5 separate regions of the Homo sapiens genome follow, and all the other regions are linked to region 2. The links are contacts of gene promoters, found by promoter capture Hi-C in blood cells and fetal thymus (Javierre and others, 2016). All regions are on one chromosome and are shown on one strand. The core of a region is centred on a gene start or on the middle of the fragment in contact, and the rest is flanking DNA. Distances in the headings are between cores, read along the strand shown.

The links. The method cuts DNA at HindIII sites, captures the fragments that hold promoters and counts their contacts. A CHiCAGO score of 5 or more calls a contact.
Region 1: a fragment that was not itself captured here is called in contact with the fragment with the promoter of PRKACG in region 2 in 7 of 17 cell types (M1 macrophages, monocytes, neutrophils and 4 more); the score reaches 8.1 in M1 macrophages.
Region 3: a contact is called between a fragment that was not itself captured here and the fragment with the promoter of PRKACG in region 2, in 6 of 17 cell types (total B cells, monocytes, M1 macrophages and 3 more). The highest score is 8.1, in total B cells.
Region 4: a contact is called between a fragment that was not itself captured here and the fragment with the promoter of PRKACG in region 2, in 2 of 17 cell types (neutrophils and M2 macrophages). The highest score is 11.3, in neutrophils.
Region 5: a fragment that was not itself captured here is called in contact with the fragment with the promoter of PRKACG in region 2 in 5 of 17 cell types (naive B cells, M2 macrophages, M1 macrophages and 2 more); the score reaches 7.8 in naive B cells.

The regions. Positions count from the first base shown.
Region 1 is chr9:68,417,583-68,420,414 of GRCh38, reverse strand. All of the region lies in intron 6 of PGM5 (phosphoglucomutase 5), which reads right to left. Among named protein-coding and RNA genes, the nearest start is that of PGM5-AS1, 61 kb to the right of the region's middle. The HindIII fragment of the contact is 2,165 bases long and covers 427-2,591 here.
Region 2 is chr9:69,012,835-69,015,534 of GRCh38, reverse strand. PRKACG (protein kinase cAMP-activated catalytic subunit gamma) reads left to right here and starts at 1,422. Exons shown (of 1, transcript NM_002732.4): 1 at 1,422-2,700. The coding sequence starts at 1,443. The coding sequence ends at 2,498. The HindIII fragment of the contact is 8,295 bases long and covers 1-2,700 here.
Region 3 is chr9:68,433,804-68,436,626 of GRCh38, reverse strand. The region is part of intron 6 of PGM5 (phosphoglucomutase 5); the gene reads right to left. Among named protein-coding and RNA genes, the nearest start is that of PGM5-AS1, 77 kb to the right of the region's middle. The HindIII fragment of the contact is 3,415 bases long and covers 1-2,823 here.
Region 4 is chr9:68,486,383-68,489,082 of GRCh38, reverse strand. The region is part of intron 9 of PGM5 (phosphoglucomutase 5); the gene reads right to left. Among named protein-coding and RNA genes, the nearest start is that of TMEM252, 53 kb to the left of the region's middle. The HindIII fragment of the contact is 5,173 bases long and covers 1-2,700 here.
Region 5 is chr9:68,452,815-68,455,514 of GRCh38, reverse strand. The region is part of intron 6 of PGM5 (phosphoglucomutase 5); the gene reads right to left. Among named protein-coding and RNA genes, the nearest start is that of TMEM252, 87 kb to the left of the region's middle. The HindIII fragment of the contact is 7,166 bases long and covers 1-2,700 here.

The DNA of each region.
Region 1 (2,832 bases), core at 260-2,759, 600 kb after region 2:
GCCATTTTTACAGTCCTCATAGATAATATGAACCTTGCATCCTACTTCATGAATTCAAAGGGGTCAGTTTCCTTCAGTTGTACTCAAGATCACAAGCAGAGAATTTTTCTTCAGATGTGACCTACTTCTGACTACTCCTCCAACCCACAGAATCACAGATGACAAAGCAGCTCTGACTCTGTCTTTGAGCCACACCAAGCCTCAGAGGTTTGCTGCTGGGAGGAACATAACTCTAGGGTCTTCGGAGCCCCCAGAGGGAGAGCTGAGCTGAGACTGCCATCAATACAGCAGGAATGGCTGAGCCCATTAAATAGCAGGAATTCCTCTAGGTGTACGTTTTCAGCTTGATGATACCTTGATTTGGTGTGCAAGCAGTGACAGGTCCAAACACTGGGGTCAAGACATTTTCCATGCACTTGAAAAGCTTCCTTAAGTGAGACTACAGATCAAAGGCAGCTACGCCATTTGGTAGGGAGCATTCAAAGCCTGATGGGAATCTGATTTTAACAGACAGTCTTCCAGCAGCATTAACACTCTGTAGAATGGAGATGAGGGGGATATCTCAACAATGTGAGGCTCTAACAGAATTCTGTCAAGAGGGGAAAAGGCCATCCACTGCAAAAGAGGCACAAATCCTGCCCTAGATGTTACACTGAAAATTCTTTGATTTCTACCACAAAATTATTCTGTCTTGGCTCTGAGATAACTGACATTGCCAGACTGGGGGCATTTAAATGCTAAGTAAAGACAGCAATAGATGCTGGTTACCAGGGAATGCTTCTAAGCAAAGCTAAGTCTCTGAGAGGATCAGCAGAGGAATTGTGGAGCCATCCTAGTCCTACTTTCTTTCCCCGGACCCCTAAAGTATGGCTTCTTCTGCCTCAGTTTTAAAATGCCCCAGCTCGGTCTGAAGCAGTACCTACTCTGATCATGGCCAAATCCTCCCCACAACCAATTCCTCCCAACCAGGATGCCCTTCTTTTCTAGACACCTGACTGGTGGAAATGGAGGGGGAGAAGCAAAGATAAGGGCTGGGAGCTCAGCATTAAACCTATTTGTGTTTTGCTGTTTTGCCCATAAAATGGCCAGTGATGGAGACCCCATATATTCATTGAAAATTGCCAGCAGTCTTAGAACTTTAAAACTTGGTGGAAAAAAAAAGTTAAAACATATTATCTTCTATTCATCTTCTTTCTTAGACAACAAAATCTACACATCATGGTGCCTGTATCTTACTCCTAATTAAAAATTAATAATCAGCTATGGAATTGAGATCAATTGTGTGTTACATTTAATCAAAGGTATTTCACCAGATTTCTTTGATCTGATTTTTCTGTTGAGATTTTAAAGCAGAGGTTTATTTCCACCTATACTTTGGGGCAGGGGCGCACCTTGTAAAGTATTAAGTAAAAGTTCCAGCCATTTTGAAACGGGCCACCTGATCTTTACCACATTCTCTTTTTCAGCCGACTATAAAGCTCGCATAAGCCTGGTTCCTCCTGCGGTATCATTTTACCCTCTGAACTTCATCTCCCAACACCTCCTTACTCTCTCTGACTCTGACACCCCAAGCAAGAGGCCATGGGGTGCTAGAGGGGGTTTAGGCTGGTGACCCGGCAGGGGTTCCCAGGAGAAGGAGAAAGCGGGCTTGACAAGGGAGCTGTTCATCTCCCACCCCCGCCGCAGCCAGCTGATAAGACCCCCAGGGCTCAGAGGGCATTCAGAAGGAGCCATCACAGGCGCAGAAACCACAGCGCAGCCAGTCAAGTCGTCCTGCCAAACAGCAGGCCGCAGCAAGGTGAGAAACACAGGGGAAGGCTGCAGCAGCAGCTGCAGCATCGGAGATTTCTTCTGCTTGAACACAAAGCATCCTTTCTCCTGTCGCCTTTTCAGTTTAGGACAAGCTATCAGTAACAGAGTCTGATTTCCAAAGCACTTCTCTCTCACACCCTCAATGCAGCAGGGTGTTAACTAAAAGGTCTGCAGGCTAAAAATAATACCACTTGTCTGTAAAGCTGAGCGCAGGAACAGAGTCAGGTTCTGAACTCAGATACCTTGTCTAAGCCAAAGTAGAATGGGAGGTGACAGAAACCCCATGGGGCTAATTCCCAGAGGATCCCTTCCTAAGTCCACAGAGTAAATACAACAACATTCTAGTTGATTTGCCCAGTGAAATGGGACACTTTTGTGGGCAGGCTGATATGACTCCTAAGCTCAAGACACCTTTAGTCAAATTCAACAAACAAAATGGAATCACGCCAGCAGGTGACTATAGGAAGACATATGGGGATGTGATATAGTGAAGGACAAAGTGGAGAGAATGGCCCTTGGTGGCCCCCAAAGCAGCTCAGCCTCTTGTCAGGGGAGAAACAGCAAAACAAGAGAGAGATCAAAGACAGAAGAATTAAGTTCGCTGCTCCCTGGTGGTATCAGAGAGAGCTTTGGCAATTGTGCATCTCAATTGAAGTGTAAGGCACACAGGGAACAGTTACTGCCAGAGGTTTCCATAACACAGAAAGTGAAATCAAAGTAGCCCAAGAAACCAGAGACAGGGGAGAGACATGGTCCAACTGAGGCAGAGCTAGAAAGCTTTACCTGACTTCCTCCAAGGTCTAGCATCAGATCCCAAGAAATCTGGGTGGCCGCATAGAACAATCTTTCAAGACAGGCAGGAAAAGGAGTAAGGCCTCAGCGGCTATAGCTGAAGCAAATAAGTTTTGAAGACAGGAGTTGCCCCAGAATTGTGTCGCATTTATATGCTTTCTTGTCTCTTCCTGCTTGATGAGGTGTGTAATGTACTAATCTCCAACATTAATTTTACTTCTCAATATA
Region 2 (2,700 bases), core at 173-2,672:
TAATAATTGATAGAATAAGTAAACAGAAAGTCAATAAGAATATAGAAGACCTGAACACTACTACTAGCCAACTTGACCTAAGTGACATTTGTAGAACACTGTATCCTCAAACAGCAGAATACACCAGAATATACATTCTTCTCAAGTGCATATGGGCCATCTACCAAGATAGATCATATTCTGGGCCATAAAATGAGCCCCAAGAAGTGTAAAACATTTTAGGTCACACAGAGTATGTTTTCTAACAATGGAATTAAATCAGAAATCAATAGGAAAATTCTTGAAAAATCCCCAAGTATTTGGAAACGAAATAATATACTTTTAAATAGCTTATCTGTCAAAGAAGATGAAAAGGGAGCTTAGAAAATATTTTGAGCTGGATGAAAAGGAAAATACAACATACCAAAATTTGTGGGATGCTGCAAAAAATAATACTTAGGAGGAAATTTATAGCACTAAGTGATTGTAATAGAAGAAAGATTTCAAATCAGTGACCTTAGTTCCCACCTTAGGAAATAAGAGCAATTAAACCCAAAGCAAACAGAAGAAAGGAAATCATATGTATGTGTTAAAATAAAACATTACATGCAGTAAAACTGAATTTTGGGGGGAAGTATACAGTTCTTTGAGGTGTTTGTTTGTTTGTTTGTTTGTTTTTGAGATGGAGTTTCACTCTTATTGCCCAGGCTGGTGTGCAGTGGCACGATCTCTGCTCACTGCAACCTCTGCCTCCCAGGTTCAAGCAATTCTCCTGCCTCAGCCTCCCGAGTAGCTGGGATTACAGGCATGCGCCACCACGCCTGGCTAATTTTTTTGTATTTTTAGTAGAGACGGGGTTTCACTATGGTGGTCAGGCTGGTTTCGAACTCCTGACCTTGTGATCCGCCCGCCTCGGCCTCCCAAAGTGTTGGGATTACAGGCTTTAGCCACTGCGCCCGGCCAGTTCTATGAGTTTTAAAACAAATGTAGACCACCACCCAATACATTGTAACCACCAGCACAATCAGGATACAAACATGTCCCACCACTTCCCACATTCCCTCAGGCTGTCCCTTCATAGTCCAACCGTCCCCTAACCCCAAGCCCTGGCAATCACTGATCTGTTCTCTCACACTATAGTTTTGCCTTTTCTGGAATGTCATAGAAATGGATTCATACAGTAAGTCTCCTTTAGAGTTGGCTTCTCTCACTTGCATAATGCCTTTTGGATTTATCCATATTGTTGAGTGCAGCGGCGTGATCTTGGCTCACTGAAGCCTTGACCTCCCAGGCTCAAGAAATCCTCCCATCTCAGCCTCCCATGTAGCTGGGAATATAAGCGGAGGCCGGGCGGGGGTCGCAGCGCCGCAGCCAGCGCAGCCAGCCCCAGGGGGCGCCATCTCCGCCGCTGCCGCCGCCGCCGCCGCCGCCGCGAGACCCCCGCCCCTGCCGCCGCCACCGCCATGGGCAACGCCCCCGCCAAGAAGGACACCGAGCAGGAGGAGAGCGTGAACGAGTTCCTAGCCAAAGCCAGAGGAGATTTCCTCTACAGATGGGGAAACCCCGCTCAAAACACCGCCAGCTCGGATCAGTTCGAACGGCTCAGGACGCTGGGCATGGGCTCCTTCGGGCGGGTGATGCTGGTGAGGCACCAGGAGACCGGCGGCCACTACGCCATGAAGATCCTCAACAAGCAGAAGGTGGTGAAGATGAAGCAGGTCGAGCACATACTGAACGAGAAGCGCATCCTGCAGGCGATCGACTTTCCGTTCCTCGTCAAGCTCCAGTTCTCCTTTAAGGACAACTCCTACCTGTACCTGGTGATGGAGTACGTGCCGGGTGGGGAGATGTTCTCCCGCCTACAGCGCGTCGGAAGGTTTAGCGAGCCCCATGCCTGTTTCTATGCCGCCCAGGTCGTCCTGGCCGTCCAGTACCTACACTCGCTCGACCTCATCCACCGCGACCTGAAGCCCGAGAATCTCCTCATCGACCAGCAGGGCTACCTGCAGGTGACGGACTTCGGTTTCGCCAAGCGCGTGAAGGGCCGCACTTGGACCTTGTGCGGGACCCCAGAGTACCTGGCCCCCGAGATCATCCTGAGCAAAGGCTACAACAAGGCCGTGGACTGGTGGGCCCTAGGGGTGCTCATCTATGAGATGGCCGTGGGCTTCCCACCCTTCTACGCCGACCAGCCCATCCAGATCTACGAGAAGATCGTCTCTGGGAGGGTGCGGTTTCCCTCCAAACTCAGCTCTGACCTCAAGCATCTGCTGCGGAGCCTGCTGCAGGTGGACCTCACCAAGCGCTTCGGAAACCTCAGGAACGGGGTTGGCGACATCAAGAACCACAAGTGGTTCGCCACAACCAGCTGGATCGCCATCTATGAGAAGAAGGTGGAAGCTCCCTTCATCCCGAAGTACACAGGCCCTGGGGATGCCAGTAACTTTGACGACTACGAGGAGGAAGAGCTCCGGATCTCCATCAATGAGAAGTGTGCCAAGGAGTTTTCTGAGTTTTAGGGGTGTGCTTGTGCCCCTGTGGGTTTTCTTTCCTTTTTGTTTTTGGTGGTTTGGGGGATGGGAGGGTTGGATTGAACAGCCAGAGGGCCCCAGAGTTCCTTGTATCTAATTTCATCCTCACCCCACCCTCCAGGGTTGGGGGAGCAGGAAGCCCAGATATTTGGAGGAACAGAAACACCAGCTGCTCCCTCACCCCCCCCCA
Region 3 (2,823 bases), core at 221-2,720, 580 kb after region 2:
CAATCATGAGGCCAAGCCTTCAAAGACATACAGGAAATGCTAAACAACCAGGTCTCAGAAAGAGAAAAAGCCTCATGTTGTTCAGAACTAAGGAGTGTATACAGTTTGTCATTGGCTTGTCATCACCTTGACCCAGATACTCCTTCTCTCTGGCTGCTCGTCTTCATTCTATAAGTACATTTTTTATCTTCCGGGTCCTGCTTTCTCATCATTCTGGTTGTGTATAACTTCCACGATCATCTTGACCTACCAGCTTCCCTCCGCCAATGACCTGTAAACTACTCCCACTAAGTCTTACCTACTTCTTATATATTCAAATTACTAGGTTCAGGATTATTAAAAACAAGACATGATAGGCTTGGTAATTCCCTGTTTGGGTAGAGCTTTTTGCTGTACCTCAAAGGACACTGACCAGTTTGTAATAGGCTACATTTGTGCTGGTTGCCCACCTTTGGGCTAATCTGTTATGGCTCAAGGGTGAAGTCTTGCTGTGGGAGCTAAGTTATGTGGTGTGAAATAGGCAGGTGGGTCTCCGGGTTAGTTCCCTTAGTAAGTGTGAGGATGTTGGTGCTGGGGCTGACATTTCTGGCACAGTAACTCCTTCAGGCCATATCTAATATAGGCATCCAGCACCATGCCAGATGTCTGGTAGGTGCAATGCATGTTAGTTTACCGAAAAGTTCACCAAGTTACTAACAAATCACCTACTTTGTAAGGTAGAATGCCAGGTACTGTGGCAGTAAGAGTGACAAGGCAGATGTGGTCCCTGTTCTTATGGAGTTTCTACTGTAGTAAATGAGACATCCAAAAATATATATAAGCAACTCAGCAAGCCCACTTTTAGATACAGGATACAGAGAAAAGAAAACACATGTTCACATAAAAACTTGTACACAAATTCTTAAAGCAGCATTATTCATAATAGACAAAAAATATAAACAACCCAAATGTCCATCAATGGACAAATGGATAAACAAAACACACTATAACCATATGGTGAAATATTATTAAGCCATAAAAAGGGATAAAGTTCTGATACATGCTACAACACTGATGAACATTAAAAACATGAGGCTAAGTTAAAGAAACCAGATACAAAAGACCTCATAGTATATGATTTTATTCATATGAAAGTCTGGAAAAGGGAAATCTACAGAGACAGGAAGTAGATTTGTGGTTGCTTAGGGATGGAGAGGTGATGGATGTATGATGGGGTGATAGCTAAAGGGTACAGGATTTCTTTTTTACCCGATGAAAATTGCCAACCATTATGATGATGGTTGCATGTATCTGTGAATAAACTAAAAACTATTAAATTGTATATTTTAAATGTGCAAACTGTATGGTGTGTGAATTATATCTCAATAAAGCTGTTAAAATTCTAAAAACTAAACACATGCAGAAAATTAATAAAATTAAATGTGCATGGGCTATAAAGGAAACAAGAGACTGAGATAAAGAATAAAAGGGAGGGGCTCTCCTTAGGTAGTGTGCTCAAGGGAGGCCTCTCTAAGTGGGTGGCACAGAACCCAAGAACTGGAGGAAGAATAGGAACCAGCTGTGAGAACAGCACTCCTAGTAGAGGAAACAGCTTGAGCAAAGGCCTGGAGGCAGGCAGGACTTATCAGGAGAATGGCCATCACTTTCTCTCCCACTTAGGATGCAAGTGTTTCCGAGTGACTTTAAGATAATTTTTAATTAATTCCAATTTATTTAAAAATCAAATTAACACCAGTCTTTGGCACCTTAACTATAAGTAGGAATAATTTATATGTGGTGTGCAGTAGTCACTCTAGTCAGGACCCTACATCACAGAGAGATCACCATTTTTTTTTTTTTGAGATGGAGTCTTGCTGTCTCTCAGTCTGGAGCGCAGTGGTGCGATCTCCGACTCCCAGGTTCAAGCGATTCTTCTGCCTCAGCCTCCTGAGTAGCTGGGATTACAGGCGCCTGCCAGCACACCCAGCCAAACTTTGTGTTTTTAGTAGAGATGGGTTTTGTCATGTTGTCCAGGCTGGTCTCAAACTCCTGACCTCGGGTGATCCACTTGCCTCGGCCTCCCAAAGTATTGGGATTAGAAGCGTGAGCCACCGCACCAAGCCAAGATCACAATTTTAACACCAGGTTTCACACCTTTGGCTAACTAGCAAACAAAATAATTTACAAATAATATTTTGCAGAGTGGACCTCAAAGTACCCTATCAATGCAAAATTCTCAACCATATCTGTATTGCTGTGAACAGATTTCAAATCTTCACTTTGACATTTTTTTCTTTTTTTCTTTTTCTTTTTTTTTTTTTTTTTTTTTTTGAGACGGAGTCTCACTCTGTTGCCCAGGCTGGACTGCAGTGGCACAATCTTGGCTCACTGCAACCTCTGCCTCTTGGGTTCAAGCCATTTTCCTGGCTCAGCCTCCCAAGTAGCTCGGGTTACAGGCACCCACCACCATGCACAGCTAATTTTTGTATTTTTAGTAGAGACAGGGTTTCACCATGTTGGCCAGGCTGGTCTCAAACTCCTAACCTCAAGTGATCCATCTGCCTCTGCCTCCCAAAGTGCTGGGATTATAGGCGTGAGCCACTGCGTCTGGCCCACTTTGATATTTTATGCGTTAAACTCGAATTGTCTCTTTGAGGGTCTCTTAGGAACTGGTGAATAGGATGTTTTATACAGGATAGTTCCAGACATCTGCAGACTTATTCAGTTAAGTATAGTAAATAACAAAATCCCTATCATTCTACTTTCCTTTTCTTTTGGCCCTGAGCCTTCAAAAAGCAGTAGGTTGAAAGAAACCAAACCATCTTTCCTGACCTCTTCATTTTA
Region 4 (2,700 bases), core at 156-2,655, 530 kb after region 2:
AGGGAAGAAAGAGCTCACCTAGCATGATGGATGGAAACCCTCGATGTTTGCACAATGAAGTCGCCCCTGAAGAAAGAGTGGCTCACCCTGCAACCCACATGAATCACACAACTCCTCTCTGTCCTATCTCTTTAGAAGGTATAAACTGGGAACTCCTTTAACTACTTAGCCATTTGATCAAAGTGCTCCCCTATTCTCATTGTAGCTATAGGCTTATTTTTTTCCACTTATATTTGAAGAAAATAGCATCAGTCAGTCCTTCATGTGACTAGATTTCACTTGAAAATAGTGACATATCCTCATGAAGATAGAAGGAAGAACTGCAGTTGTTGAACCATGCCTCATGAAAATGCTTTCTAAATCAAACAGAGTCTCTCTTGGGCCCTGTATAGTGGAAAGCACACATCAATTTTTCTCTTGGCATCCGAGGTCACACATGCATCAGACACTTGGAGGCAGCCATAGTAAATCCCATGAAACCAAACATGCCACATTGAGGCCAGGGAGGTCCCTGGGAAATCATGTCAGGGGTTGAGAACTTCAGGGTTTCCTTCTTGCTCCTTGAATGGTCCCATAAAGCCAGGCAGGATAGCCTTCACTGAACGTTTCCACAGCAGCAGGGTTGGCAGTAGTGGGGTGGTTATCACCAGAACAGGATTTTAATTTCATTTTGGATGGAGAAGCATTTCTACTTTATCTCTGGAGATGTATGTGAAACAGGATTTTTTTCCATGGTTTATTTCCTGACTCTGACCTCAGGTCAAGGACATAAAGGAGACCAAGCTGCCTTAAAAAACCTTTCGCTTTCTAAAGCAGAGTGTGTGTGCTGGGGGATGGGAGAGGGGGAGAAATATGAGTTTGAATCAATTCCCAGATGACTTAGAAACTGAAGGGGCCTTCTCAAATCTTTATGTGACACTGCAAAATTGTGTGTTTTTTTTCTGCTTTTCTTATCATATCTGGTTCATTCAATGCTACAGTCTTTCCCAAGGATGCTTTTTTTAAAACATAAATAATTTTATTTAACCAATTGTTATCATTTGTTATGTGCCAGGATTTTATAAGTGTCATCTCACTTAATTCTCCCAAACGCTTATATGAGACAGCCACAATTATTATTCCTATTTCACAGATTTTAAAAATGCAGGTGTAGGGGGGTTGAATAGCTTGCCTAAGATAACCCAGCAAGGAGGTGGCAGAGTTGAGGCTCAAACCCAAAACTTTCTGACTTCAAGCCTGCACACCCAACCATTGCTCACACGATTTACAATGGCACCAAGGTTGCCTTGGGTGCTCTGGAGCAGAAAGCTGCTCTTGAAGAGAATTTCTGTATAAAACGGGAACAGCACAAATTTTAACAATTCATTGTTGAAAATTATTTCTGCTATCTACTTTTTTTTTAAGTAAGTAGAATTTAACCCAAACAAGAGACAACTGGGAATCTCCCACTACCTTGGGATCATCAATCTGAGCCTCAAATTTTACTGCAAAGTACTTTTAAAATAGAATAAATAGAAGAGTTGGGTGAGGGTTTTCTAACCCTAGGGCACACTGATTATTACTTTTAAAAATATACACCTGATTTGTGTGTGTGTGTGTGTGTGTGTGTGTGTGTGTGTATGTGCGTGTGACACAGAGAGAGAGAGAGAGAGAATAGTTGTATCCTTTTCTTGAACTGATATTCAATCAAATTAAGGATTCTGGTCAAGGGGAGGGAACTGATATTTCTTGAGCATCAATTAGGTACTTGCCGCTGTACCTGAGGCTTCACATGACTTTCTCTTCAAACTTTCCCCATGATGCATGTGTGATAATTATCACTAGCTCCTCCCCTCAAGATGAGGTTCAAAGAAGTTAAATAATATGCCTAAAATCACAAATCTAGGCAGTGACAAGGCCAGCTTTCAATCCTGTGTCTATCTGACTCCAACACAAGAGAATACTGAAGAGAACCACAACAACCTGCCTCCTGTAGGAAGCAGACACTTGGCAGTATTATGTCTCCTCTGAGCTTTGCTAACAGAGAGATATAGTTCTGTTTCTCCTTATAGAAATCAAATCTCCTTCTATCTTAATTTAAAAATAATCCATAATATAGTAGGTTGTTTTAAAATAACAGTATTTTTAAATCACAAAGACATAATAACAAGGGTTAGCAAAGGTGTGGAGAAACTGGAACCCTCATATACTGTTGGCAGGAATGTCAAGTGGTGCAATTGCTTACGAAGACCATATGGCAGTTCCTTTAAGGGTTAAACATAGAGATACCATTTGACCCAGCAATTCCGCTCCTAAGTATGTACCCAGGAGAATTGAAAACCTATCTCTGCACAAAAACTTGTAGATGGATGTCCACAGCAGCATTATAGTCAAAAAGTGGAAATACCTCACACATCCAACAGCAAATGGATGGATAAACAAACTGTGGTACATCCACGTGATAGAATATTACTTGGTAATAAAAGGAATAAGTACTGATATATGGTACAAAGTGGATGAACCCTGAAAATATTACAATAAGTGAAAGAAGCTAGTCATAAAGGACCTTGTATTATATGATTCCATTTATACAAAATGTCCCAAATAGGCGAATCCATAGAGACAGAAAGATCAGGGGTTGCCAGGGGCTGTGGGTTGGAGGGATGTTGGGAGGAAGATGACAGCTAAAGAGCACAACATTTCTTTTCTGGGGTGATGAAA
Region 5 (2,700 bases), core at 166-2,665, 560 kb after region 2:
TTTTTTTTTAACTAAGAGATGATGCTTATACTTTGTGTACTATGAACATTTCCCCTTCCTTTTCTCCTGCTAACCTGTCCACCAATATCACAGAAAAGAATTCATCAGTCCTGGGTATGGTTCTTATTTTTGGCTCTCTTTAGGGAGTTCCTGTTTTTTGGACAATAGATTAATATCTCTCAGGGCCAAAACTCTACCGATTCCAGGCGGAGATGCCCTGAGCAGGGCAACATGCAAAACTTTGCATTCCCTTTGGGAATGTGAGTGTCAGCTGTCCATGGTGGGTTCAGAATACCATGGATTGAACACCACATTCCACCTGTTTCATTTCATCGTGTAACTCTGATCTGTGACCCAATGGATGACGCAGGTTGCTGTTTCCTATGAAGCCAAATCAGGTCACAGGCAGCTCTCTCTGCATGGTTCCGAGAAGACGAGCATATATCAAGGGATGCACAGGCAGCCACCCTGCCTGAAAGGAACCATCTTCAAGACTGCATTTACCTTCCCAGGGTTTCCTTCGGTCACCCAGGTTTGAGTTTAATTTTATCAGGAAGCATAAGGAAAGGTCATGCCATACTAATTCTGCTCTAATGTCTTTTAAAGAAACACTTCAGTTTAATGACACATAGTTACGAGGAAAGGGAATATTGGAAAGGTCAATGTTCTTTTGTGGGACGTGAGAGTTTTACAGCAAAAGCTAAGGCTGAGTGAGCAGGAAAGGCAGGCAAACATGCGCTGCCTGTGGAATCCAGTTTAATGTCTTAGCACGGAGGAGAGTAGGGACTCTCAGTCCCCACGCAGCTCCACCCCTTCTTGCAGTGCAACCTTGGCCAAGTTACTTAACCTCCATAAGCCTGGATCTTTTACCTACAAAATGGAATGATAATATGTCTCCTTACTCAGTGGGGACTAAATGCGATGAGGCCTGGGAGCCCTGGATCCCCAGAGCACTCCGTGGGCATCGGCAAGAGTGATCGGCCTCATGAACTCTCCTACTGCGGCATCATCCTGCCATAACAAACTATTTTTGAGATGGAGCCCCCTTCAAGCACCAGGCCACTTCAGTTCTTTGCACACATCGTTCACTTAGGTAGGGATACTCCTTGTATCAATGAGGTCCCCAACAGAATTGATGGCACACTCAAAACTGAGTAGTTTGAGAGTTTAATACAGGAACTGTTTACACAGGTGTGGCTAGTGGAGAGGGCAAGTAACATCAGGGCTACCAGCGTCCCATCCCTAGATTCATTACTGAAATCCAGGGACAGATCTGTGTGGATAGGGCTGCTTGGCAGGAACCTTGACCTTCAGAAGAGTCATGTTTCCAGCCTATGGAAATCCTATAGGGAGAGAAAGAAATCCCTGCTTGCATTCTCCTCCTTCTGTCTAGTAACTGCAGTGCTCCCAATTGCCCAAGCCCAACTAAAATCTGGAGGGAAGGGTGGGGATCTCTTGATAGTCCCTATAGGTCAGTCTACAGGACGGGGAGCAGAGAGAAAGAGATGGAGTGGAGGTCTTGAAGGAAAATGAAAGACACCAGTACACTCTTCATCCACCCCCTCCTGGACTTAGGCCGCTTCCTTACTTTCCAGGTTTATCTGGCCAGTCCTCTCTTTGTACTGCCACTGCAAACCCCAGGAGTTAGACACTCAGCACAGGATATTGCCTTAGATGCTGGGACACCTAACTCCTTCTCTAATCCGTTAGTCTCTTGAAGGTAAGTGCTTAAAGACACTTGCTCATTTCATGCAAACTTCATGGGGCCCATCAGAACATGGACTCCTCCTACATTAATATAAAGGTGCTTCCAGAACTTGGTCTTAAAATACCAGTGGAAGCAAATACATGGGATGATTGAAAGTTTGAGATAAGGAGGGAGATTACAGCATGTTCACCCCTGTAATCCCAACACTTTGGGAGGCCAAGGAGGGGGGATAGCTTGAGCCCAGGAGTTTGAGACCACCCTAGGCAAAACTCCTGGCTCAAAAAAAGAAAAAATACTAAAATTAGCCAGCTGTGGTGGTGTGCACCTGTAGTCTCATCTACTTGGGAGGCTGAGATGGGAGGATTGCTTGAGCCCAGGAGTTCAAGGCTGCAGTTAGCTATAATTATGCCACTGTACTCCAGCCTGGGCAGCAGCAAGACCCTGTCTCAAAAAACAAAACCAAACCAGAAAGTTTAAGATAAAATTAAGCGATGGTGGATGAATTTCCAAAGGAATTACATACAAAGGGTTGGCTGAAAAGGTTAATAACCTTATATGTTAATTTACCAAGTCCAGTGCTATAAATTTATTATGAAAAGGTAAGAGACTATGGTAAAAGTGGACTCTCTACTTTGGCAGGATATTTCAAAACCAAATGCTCATTTCATTGTAAAACTTCACAAAGAGGGTAGAGTATACATTTCTCACATTTACACAGAGCACCTTGTGGAGTTGGTGGTTTCATTCAGCACACATGGGAAAATGCTGGCTAAGATTTACCAACCAATATTTTCTTCATAGGACTATGATAGTGGTGGGGTCCAAGGGAATTTACTCCTACTGAACACTTTTGAAGAGCAAGGGAGAAGAAGGACTATGTTAAATGCTTTTAACTCACATCAAGGATTCCCAGCAAGATGTCTTGTCCAAAGAGCCTTGAGAAAGGAGATGTTGGAAGGTGATGCCTTGGAAGCAGAGATACCCCTCCTCCA